3 separate regions of the Homo sapiens genome follow, and all the other regions are linked to region 3. Evidence: promoter capture Hi-C in human tissues and cell types (Jung and others, 2019). All regions are on one chromosome and are shown on one strand. The core of a region is centred on a gene start or on the middle of the fragment in contact, and the rest is flanking DNA. Distances in the headings are between cores, read along the strand shown.

Region 1 (3,408 bases), core at 690-3,189, 300 kb before region 3:
GCCAGAGGAAGGAGTCCGGAGGCACCTGGGATGGGACAGGGGGCCAGGTGGCCAAACTGTACAGCCGGATCCAGACCGCCCAGGCTTGGAGTTGGGGGTGGGGGTGGACAGCCTGTCTCCAGGAAGGGAGGTTGGCTCCTCCGAGCTGAGGACTGCCTGGATGGAAGGGAGGCAGGAACAGGGGCCGTAGGGGAACATGGGGAGATTATCAACAGCACCCCACCCGCTACCCAGCCCCTCAGATTCCCTCCCCCACTTCAACAAGAGCTCTGTCTCCTTCTTGGCTCCTCAGCTTCCCCATCCCCCAACACCTCAAGGACCAGGAAGCAGAGCCACCCCAGCATAGCTGGGACTGAAACCCCCCTTTTGTGGCCAGGGTTTCCCAGTCAAGGTCACCTGAGCCTGGCTCCATCCTCCCCCCAAGGTATGCTGAGCAGCGAGGGGCTGAGGCTGGGTGGGCTGCCGCCTTCTCTCTGGCCCCTGCTTTCTCTCCGGCCCCCACCTCCCCACTTCCGGGCCTGGCTCCTTCGGAGCTGAAGGGGGAGCAGCAGGAGTAGGCATGCCTGTGCCCCCCGCCTGCCTAGACACTATACCCTACGGGGTCCTGGCACACCCCTTGGGTAGCCTGGGAAGAGGCCTCAGCTCCATCCAACTCCCTGGGCTGAGATGGGGCTCCCAACCCCTGGGTGCAGTTTTCCCTTCTCTGCAACTAGGATAACTACTGGGAGACTATCTGGGTGAATTCAGGAGGACAGAGGTCCCCAACCTGGCCCAGCTTCAGGGTGGACATACTGGTGTCTTTGGTTGGCGTCTCCCTTACCTCTCCCAAGCAGTAATGTTCTGGTGGCAAAACACAGCTATCTCAAAAATTAGGAGTTATTTATCCAGTGGGGCCCCCAGCCCCAGCTCCAGCCAACTCCCGCCAGCACTGCCTCATTCCTAGGCCAACTTTGATACCCTCCTGTCCCATCTGCTGGGGGCAACCCCGCCAAGCCCCCGCTGTCCCCTGCCCACTTCACCACTGGGACCCCTGGTTCAAACTAGGGATTGACCGCAGGCTCTCCAAGCTCACCTACACACTACATACAGCCGTGCCCCTAATCCAGGCAGGACTCTGCTGTAAAAGCAAACCCAAGGTGGCAGCTGGGGGTCAAGGGGCTGGCACAATGCTGGGAGAAATGCCTCAGGACTGGAGGTCCTCCCACTCTGCTGATGTGGGAGACCCCCCACGTGGGGACTGCCAGTATACCGCTTCCCTTCGGGCTGGCCAGTCCTCAAGTAGAGACACTGAGGTAGGGCAAGCGCATCTACGGGGAAGAGCGCTGCCTCGGGCGTTAATGGGAGAGAGAGCTGAGGCAGAAGGGGGATCGGAACTCCCGCTCCAGAAGCGTGAAGGTGGGGGTGTATGAGAGCACCCACCCAGAACCTTGCAGGAAAAAGTTGCTTTGCACATGGGTGACCCCGCAGGCCACATCATCCACACATCCATACGCCGCCCCGTAGGTAAGGGGTCCGGGCCTCCAGGACAGGTAAGAATCCCACCCCAGCCTTGTTGCCCCTATGTCCGCGGGCAGCCCCCCGGCTCGACGAGACCCGCTCCCCGGACACTTCTGCGGAGTTGCAGTGCCGCGGGTCCCAGAGGGGTCGCGGGGTGGCCCGGCCGCCTGCCCGCTCCCTCCCGGTTCCCGCTGCACTCACCTCTTCCGCAGCGGCGGGGCCTGGGCGCCCGGGCGGCGGCGGCGGCACGGAGCGGCTCCCGTTGGGCCGGTCCGCGCTAGCGGCCCCCCGGGGCCATGGCCCTGCCCGCGACCTCTCGCCGCTGCGCCTCAGCCGGGATCGGCGCCGCGGCCGCGGCTTAACCGGTTCCGCGGGCTTCGGGCGCGTCAGCAGCCGAGGGCCCGGGCCCCAGCCCGGGCCATGGGAAGGCTCAGGGGCGCTCGGGGCCGCCTCCCCTGGGGTGGGCTGCGGGCGCCCCCTGGCCGGCGCGCCGAGGGCGCATTCCCCAGCGCGGGGCGCGGGCGGTGGCGCGCACTCGGCTTCGAAGCGCTGCGCTCTCCTGGCTGCTGGACCCGGGCCGGGCGGCCGCGCTGGGCTGCACGGTTCCTCGCGGCGTACCCAGGTCCTGCGCTGCGCTCGGGGCTCTCCGGACCGCCGCGGTTCGTTCGCTCGCTCTGGTCTCGCGGCCGCCGGCGGGACGGGGCGCTCAGAGCCGCGCGGGGAGCGCCGGCAATTGGCCGCCCGTGGGCGACATTTGCATAGCGCAGCCCCGCCCCGCCCGGCCCGCCCAGCCCCACCCCCGGGGCGGGACCCGCCCAGCCACCGCCCCGCCCCCGCTCCACCTGTCCGTGGGCCGGGCTCAGGGTTCCCAGGCGGTGGGCACCCCGCGCCGGGGGAGACTAGTCTGCACCCCTCGCCCCCGCCCCCGCTTCGCGGGCGGCGCCCCCGCCCCGCCCTGGCTTTGTCTCTCTGTGAATACACCGCACACATCGCGCCTGGTGTTTACCCGGGCATTCAACTCCCTGGCGAGAAGGGCTGCAGCGCCAGGGAGCAACGAGCCTGCGCTCACCTGAGCACCCCCTTCCGCGTCCCTCATTCCCACTCGCCGCCGGCCGTGCCCCTGGTCCCGTGCGTGGGCCCCGCGGCGCAGGACCCCTGACTGCCCGGGCTGCTCAGCAGGTGGCGGTGCAGCCCCTGGGACGGCTGGCACCGCCGGACCTTCCCGCGGGCTCAGCCTCCAGCCTAGGCCAGGTCGGGGGCAGCCCAGCCACACAGCTCTCTCCAGCCATTCAACGACTCCCCGTGATCGCCTCAATCGCCAGCCCTTATTTCAGGCCAGCAGCTCCCACAGACTCTCCTTATAGTTCCATACCTTAGAGAGGCCAGATCAGCTAGCACCTTCTCTCCTCAAGGGGACATTTGCTTTCAAATGGCCTGGTGATGAGCCAATGGCTCAGCAACTGAGAAGGGCCTACCGTGACCCCAGGAAGGGACCCTCTGCCCAACCCAACTTTCCAAGGTCATGGCCTCACCACCAGGACCACTTCTCAGCCCTGCCCCGGGCACCCTGCGGAGGCTCCCAGGGGCGTTGGCCCTTTGTCCTCTCCTTCATCCTCTTCCTGTTCTGTCTTCTGTGCCCTCCTCTTTCTCCTCTTTCCTTTCTCCTCTTCTCCCTCTGCCTCTCCTTCCTTCTCCCCTCTCTTCTCCCTCTTCCTCTCTCCTCTTCTCCCTCTTTTCCATCTCCCTCCTTTTCCTCCTTCTCCTCTCTTCTCCTGGATTTTTCCTTCTCTGCCCTCTCCTCCTCTCCCTTCTCTTCCTCCACCCCATGCATTTCCTTCTCTTCTTCCTCCTCCTTCTTCCTGCTCTTTACCCTCTTCCTCCTTTCTCTTTTTCTTCTCACTCCTCCTCTCC
Region 2 (3,485 bases), core at 627-3,126, 260 kb before region 3:
AAGTAAACTGCAGAGAAAAGGCCACCTTAACTGCATGCCCAATCTGTGGAGCTTAAGCACTCAGTTTGGCCAGATTGGCAATGTGAGCAACCCATCACATCATCTGGTCCCAAGAACAGCCTGAGATCCAGGTATACTTCCTGACCTGGTCAGGCATGGTCTTCTGGGTCAAAATGATGTTCTCTGCCCTGTGGAAGAGTGCTGAGGACGAAATACCCATTCAAAACAGAAAACTCTCCAATGCCCCCAGGACCTCCTTAGCAGCTGAGAAGATGCAGTGAGTGGAGTGCTGCCAGGGGGAGATGACCTCCTCAGTTTCTCCATCGCAGCAGAGGGTGGACCAGGTATCACCTGTATCATGGCCAAAAGCAGGGAGGATCTGCCCTGCAGAGCAGTGACAACTCCACACTCCGGCATGTGTGGAATAAAGTCTGTGGAAACTAGAGAGGTGCAAGCACTCATGGTCACTTTGGTCTTAGCAGAAAAGCTACTAAGTTACCATGATTTCCATGAAGAGTTTTAAAACATGCTAAACTTTTTTTTTTTTTTTTTTTGAAACGGAGTTTTGCTCTGGTTGCCCAGGCTAGAGTGCAATGGCGCGACCTCCGGCTCACTGCAAACTCCGCCTCCTGGGTTCAAGCAATTCTCCTGCCTCAGCCTCCCGAGCAGCTGGGATTACAGGCCAACCACACCCAGCTAATTTTGTATTTTTAGTAGAGACGGGTTTCTCCATGTTGGTCAGGGTGGTCTTGAACTCCCAACGCCAGGTGATCCGCCTGCCTCGGCCTCCCAAAGTGCTGGGATTACAGGCGTGAGCCACCACGCCCGGCTAAAACATGTTAAACTCTTGAATTTAAAAATCCGAACATGTCAAGACCAGCCTGGGCAACAGAGTGAGGCCCCATCTCTGTAAAAAATTAAAAAATTAGCCTGCATGGTGGTATGTGCTTGTAGTCCCAGCTACTTGGAACACTAAAGTGGGAGAATCGCGTGAGCCCGGGAGGTCGAGGCTGCAGGCTCCCGAGTAGCTGGGATTACAGGTGCACACCACCACGTCTGGCTAATTTTTTTGTATTTTTGGTAGAGACAGGGTTTCACCATGTTGGCCAGACTGGTCTCAAACTCCTGACCTCAGGCAATCCACCTGCCTCGGCCTCCCAAAGTGTTGGGATTACAGGTGTGAGCCACCACGCCTGGCCAACCCTGCCTCAAAATCAATCAATCAATCAATCAGAACGTGGTGATGGGGGCAAGAAATAAACTGATTTCATCACCAGGCTTGACTGGCTCAGACATGCTTGACCCACCTACCCACCCAAGAATAAAGAGACACAGGACACCCATTTCTCAAGGTATTTCTTTTGTAAAGGAGCCAGATTTGGCAACTAGACTGAAAATCTTCCAAAATTCTGTACAAATGTGTAATATACAAATATACACAAGGCTTTTGCCAAGAAAAGACATCACAACAAATGACAGAGGTGGCTTTGGTGTCACATACCACCTACAGCATCTCAAACCCCTAGGAATGTGAGGGGCTGATGGACCACAACATAGGCTACACATGTAAACACGCTACATTACACTATGTACACTGGAGTATAAACAATCCACTGTCCTCTCCGGTCTGTTCACAAGCCCTCTGGCGGGAAGGAAGGCCATTCACCAGGCAACCCACATAAGGGGAACTTCTTTAAGGTGGGAGGGAGAACCCTGCAGAATGAAGTGGTTCACCCTAAGATCTATTAACAGCACAAGGCATGCCCTTAAAGAGACAGGCGGTAACAGCGAATTCGGGAGATGGACCACTTCTTGTGCTCCTTGTCATCTCTCTCTCTCTCTCTCTCTCACTCCATCTCAGTGAACCGGGCAAACATGGCTTTCCGGACAGCATCTTTGTAGGAATCGGCGCCCGACAAACCATATGCGCTGCCTTTGGCTCCTAGGCCAGCTCCCTTTAGCCGAACTTGAGCCTGGGAAAGCACAGAGACTGTCAGCTGGGAGGTAGGGTATGGGCTGCTCCACCTCTCACCATGCCCACTCCTTACCCAGCAGGACCACCCACCAGGAGACAGAAGAGAGAAAACTGTATATGAAGACAAGGATTTCTCCAGAAGAGACCAGGAGCAAGTATAAGGACTGGAGGAATAAAATGGGCTACGGAACACAGGCAGATGAAGCAAATCACCCACCCCTCAATGCCTGCTCAGCAAGCATCCACGCCTAGGAAAGGGCCCCAAAGTATTCCTCTGAAGGTCTGGGAAAGGTATGGTAATTACAGGCACACATTATACAGGATAGCTCAATGTCAGCAGAACTCACATAAACAGGATGAACATGGTCTACAAGAGTCTGACCTAAGCTGTGCTCCCAGGACAGAGCAGGGGCAATTACGGGTGGAGCTCCTGCCTAGAAGGCCAGTGGGTAGGGGCCTCCGATCCTGGGATATGATGCCTCAATGTGGGCTCTGATCAATTTAAAGATTTCTTATCATGGGTGAAAACCCTACTAAATTTTTTTTTTTTTTGAGACAGAGTCGCTGTTGCCCAGGCTGGAGTGCAGTGGCGTGATCTCGGCTCACTGCAACCTCCTCCTGCCAGGTTCTAGCAATTCTCCTGCCTCAGCTTCCTGACTAGCTGGGATTACAGGCACACGCTGCCACGTCCAGTTAATATTTTGTATTTTAGTAGAGACGGGGTTTCACCGTGTTGCCCAGGCTGGTCTCAAACTTCTGGGCTCAGGCAATCCACCCTCCTCGGCCTCCCAAAGTGCTGGGATTACAGGTGTGAGCTCATGCCTGTAATCTGCCCCTTCATGCTAAGGTAAAGCTGCTCCTGGCTCCCAGGCTCTATGAGTGCTCTGATCTCATCTCTGGAACCGGCCTGTAAGCCTGGCAAACATCAAGACCTGACCCCACTGCTTACCTCAATGGGAGCCGTAATGCCTTGACACTTTCGTCCCAAGCCAGAGCCTTCCCGCCAGCCCATGGCCTGCAGCATCTTGTTGCCAATGTTACTGTGGTCAATGCCATCTTTGGTGGGTTGCTCGTAATTCCTGCCAGTGGCAAACACACAGTTACTTAAAACAGCCAGGGCCCCAGCTTACGAACTGGAAAATGTGCACATCACATACACAGTGCCGGCATCAAACTGCTTCTTGCGCTTGGGCTCTGGAGGTTCTGGAATGCCGTACTTCTCCCGTCTTTCTGCAGCTCGGTCTCGGTATTTCATCTACATGGGAGAAAAAACACTGCTGGAAATGTTCACAGACTTCAACCTGTAACCGTCTAATGCACCTATTCAAAACTATCCCCTCAAGTATTTTTAAATCTGAAGAATGCTTTTTTTAGACTGCTCTGAAATACCAAATTCCCTTGTTCCCATCATCATACCTAGTCATATCTGAAATGTTAAATTTGTAAATATGAATTGTGTGGAACCAGGGGCAGAACTATGTCTCCAACAAGCAGTTTTATTTAATTAGCC
Region 3 (3,431 bases), core at 83-2,582:
AGTAGTGGCTGGGAGTAGTAGTGAACAGTGCCCTGTGGATTTCTTGGGCTGAGGGTGAAGATCATCCTCACCACAGTGTATTCCTCAATGGTGGTGGTGGTGGGGGTCCTCTGAACTCTAGAAATCCATGTGAGTAGTGGGTCTTGGGCTGCATTTGGACCAAGGAATACTCCCTGGGCTGAGAGCTCAAGTAAGGGCTGCTGTTTTTGACTCCTGTTGACCGAGGAGCCTTACTCTTGATTTAGGCATAGAGCTGGAATCTACCTGGGCCAGCCACCGCAAGGACAGACCCTGCTCATAGCCAAAGATAGCTTCCCTGAGCTAGGGAGAGGGTGTAGGGTGAGCAATGCACAAAGATTCTATGCTGCTCTGTGTTGATTCCTTCTTTCTGTGAACACCTGTGCTTTCCACCTATGCCCCAAATGAAATCTCACTCTGGGTCTATTTCAGCTGGAGCAGATCAGCTTTATATTATGGGACTATGCACAGGGTTTCTTCTGGGTAGAGGGAGTAACACTGCCACAGATACTAAGCCTAAAAACCCAAAAGTTGACTTACTCCAGCCCAGGTGGGCCTGGGTGAACTCACCAGGGATGCTGCTCTCTGGGAGGACCTCAAAGATAACCTCCTCAAAGATAACTTCTCTGATGTGGGAATAATAAAAAGGATTTGTTAGTCTCTAGTCTTTGAAGCATCTGGGCCTCCAAAATTCCAACCCTACTACAGTCTCAAGCATAACTGATCCTCCTGAGAGCTAAGAGCTAAAGTCAGGGTACTGGCCCTAGTGTCTCCAAACTCAAGGATAGTCATATCTTACTTGGATGAAGCCAAGGTTGGCCTGGGGTGACCTGAGGGACTGGGGCCTATGTGTCCATCTTTCTAGAATCGCCCGGAACTGAGGACTGAGAGGGTAGGGTATTGTGGTCTATGGGAACTACAGACCATAGCGCATGGTCCATCACTGTCCAGAGCCCAAGGGACCCATCGGGACCATTGTTCTATTCCCTTGCGGCTGCGGTTTTCTCTGCCTTGGCCCAGCCTGCCTCGCGCCAGCTCTGGCATGGGACCACAATGCGCTGCCTTGCCCTGGAAAAGGGTCCAGCTGGCAGCCTCGCTGCTCCCCGCCTTGATATAATGCTGCGCTCTCAAGTGGCAGGTCGAGTCTCCCCAGAGGACGCCTGAGAGCGACCGCGCTCCGCCCAGGATTCTCTACGGCCTCGGGGCCGCTAAGCCCCGCCCATAGTTCCGCCCATCCGAGAATTTGTCCAATCCAGGCGAAGTATTCACGCTCCGCCCAAAGTTTTGTGTTGTCACTTCCGGCCCGCTCCAGGAAGTCGTGCTGCGGAGCCAAATTTGAAGCAAGCGGAGGCGCGGGGGCGCGTCTACGAAGCCGGACCTGTAGCAGTTTCTTTGGCTGCCTGGGCCCCTTGAGTCCAGCCATCATGCCTATCCGTGCTCTGTGCACTATCTGCTCCGACTTCTTCGATCACTCCCGCGACGTGGCCGCCATCCACTGCGGCCACACCTTCCACTTGCAGTGGTGAGTGACTGCAGTGTTGGGGCCCGGTGTTTGCCCGGGTACCGCTTCAGGGCCTTGAGGTGTTGGGCCTCCAGGCGGTCCAACCCCGGAATCCAGACAAGTGATGAGAACCTTCCTCCTAGACGAGGCCCCACGGGAGCTTCCCAACCTGGGCAGAAGTGGGTCAGGACAGGCTTTCTGGTAGAGGTGATAGCTGAGCTAAGCCTGAGGGGGACTAAGATGGCTCAGTGAAGATAGATGCTTCCTTGATCACCTATACAAACAGATGTGATTTCAAAACCGTTAGCCTGGGCAAGGGTGAGCTTTCACCACATCAACAAGTCCTTTTATTTCTTCCAGATAGAAACCTGCTAGGCTTCTGGCTACCCAAGAGAGTTTGCTGTGCCTTACTTGATGGTTTGGAATTATTCTACCCAGAGTCATCTCACTGTCCAGACACCCCAATGTATTCGCCATGTCAGCAAACCCGTTTAACATGGGGAAGGCAAGGAGATGCTCCCCTATCCAGGGGTCCTGCTGACCGTGTAGGGCCATTCTGTTGAGTGTACAGCTAGTGGGGAAAGATTCCCCTAGCAGATGTGGACAGGCCGGTTTGGACCTCCTAGCAAAAGAGATAAGGCAGCGTTACCCCTGGGAATGGTGGGTGATAATAATCACAGGGTCTTGTGGGGCTAAAGGCCCTAGGAAGCAGAAAGGCAGGCATGACACTGATGGCTGCTGGCTTACTTGCAAAGCTTTGTTTAGGCCTGTGTTGCTGACAGCCTGAGCCCCATGCTGAGGGAGCCACTGCTGTTTGGTTAGACTAGAAATTAAGCTCGCCTCTAAGCGTACTCTATTTTCTGTTTGCCTACTCTATTTTCTTCTATCCTTTTACTTTATTTATTTATTTTTATTTTATTTTATTTTTGAGATGGAGTCTCGCTCCTGTCGTGTAGGCTGGAGTGCAGTGGCGTGATCTCGGCTCACTGCAACCTCCACCTCCTGAGTTCAAGTGATTCTCCTTCCTCAGCCTCCCAAGTAGCTGACATTACAGGCGTGCGCCACCACGCCCAGCTAATTTTTGTGTTTTTCATAGACAGGGTTTCTCCATGTTGGCCAGGCTGGTCTCGAACTCCTGACTTCAGGTGATCCACCCACCTTGGCCTCTCAAAGTGCTAGGGCCTATCCTTTTACTTTAAACTTTTCTGTGTCCTTGTGTTTTACATGTATCCCTTGAAACAGCATTTATTTCTTTTTTTGTATATTAAAAAGTACTTTAGCTTACTGCAAAGATCTTTATTTTATTTTATTTTGAGACAGGGTCTCACTCTGTTACACAGGCTGCAGTGCAGTGGTGCCATCTCGGCTCACTGCAGCCTCTACCTCCTGGGCTAAGGTGATTCTCCCATCTTAGCCTCCCAAGTAGCTGGGACTACAGGCGCCTGCCACCATGCTTGACTATTTTTTTTTTTTTGTATTTTTAGTAGAGATGGGGTCTTGCTATGTTGCCCAGGCTGGTCTTGAACCCCTGGACTCAAGTAATCCACCCACCTCTGCCTCCCAAAGTGCTAGGATTACAGGTGTGAACCACCGCACCCAGCCTTGGAAAACAACATTTAGTTGGACTTTTAAAAATCCAGTCTGATAATCTTTGTATTTAACTGGACCATTTAGTCTACTTAAAATTGTTGCAATTACTGATTAAATAAAGAGTAAACATATTGTCTTTAGTCGATTCTGTTTTGCCTTGCCTATTATATCTTATTGTCTCCTTTCTTGCCTTGGTAGGAATTGGTTAAATATTCTGTATTTCTCCATTTTTCCCTCAGTTAGTTGGGTCGTTATATACCCCATTTCCATTTATAAGTGGTTATCCTAGAAATTAAGGTATGTATCCTTAACTTACCAATTT

What was found. Contacts are between HindIII fragments. The study calls those that stand out against the background at their distance.
Region 1: a contact is called between the fragment with the promoter of SEMA3F here and the fragment with the promoter of TRAIP in region 3, in 2 of the 25 tissues and cell types used here (H1 embryonic stem cells and lymphoblastoid cells).
Region 2: a contact is called between a fragment that was not itself captured here and the fragment with the promoter of TRAIP in region 3, in 2 of the 25 tissues and cell types used here (dorsolateral prefrontal cortex and thymus).

Annotation. Positions count from the first base shown.
Region 1 is chr3:50,153,855-50,157,262 of GRCh38, reverse strand. It overlaps SEMA3F (semaphorin 3F), which reads right to left and starts at 1,939. Exons shown (of 19, transcript NM_004186.5): 1 at 1,699-1,939. LOC124909484 (basic proline-rich protein-like) reads right to left here and starts at 2,593. Exons shown (of 2, transcript XM_047449434.1): 1 at 2,567-2,593; 2 at 1,474-2,202. The coding sequence starts at 2,593. The coding sequence ends at 1,474. SEMA3F-AS1 (SEMA3F antisense RNA 1) reads left to right here and starts at 1,178. Exons shown (of 4, transcript NR_135301.1): 1 at 1,178-1,529. RefSeq lists silencers at 1,955-2,424, 2,455-2,594, 2,605-2,664. The HindIII fragment of the contact is 29,271 bases long and covers 1-3,408 here.
Region 2 is chr3:50,116,819-50,120,303 of GRCh38, reverse strand. RBM5 (RNA binding motif protein 5) reads right to left here. Exons shown (of 25, transcript NM_005778.4): 23 at 3,133-3,230; 24 at 2,925-3,054; 25 at 1,283-1,973. The coding sequence ends at 1,848. It overlaps SEMA3F-AS1 (SEMA3F antisense RNA 1), which reads left to right. Exons shown (of 4, transcript NR_135301.1): 4 at 2,056-3,485. Among named protein-coding and RNA genes, the nearest start is that of RBM5-AS1, 18 kb to the right of the region's middle. RefSeq lists an enhancer at 1-6. The HindIII fragment of the contact is 8,641 bases long and covers 1-3,485 here.
Region 3 is chr3:49,854,465-49,857,895 of GRCh38, reverse strand. TRAIP (TRAF interacting protein) reads left to right here and starts at 1,332. Exons shown (of 15, transcript NM_005879.3): 1 at 1,332-1,540. The coding sequence starts at 1,443. The HindIII fragment of the contact is 12,385 bases long and covers 1-3,431 here.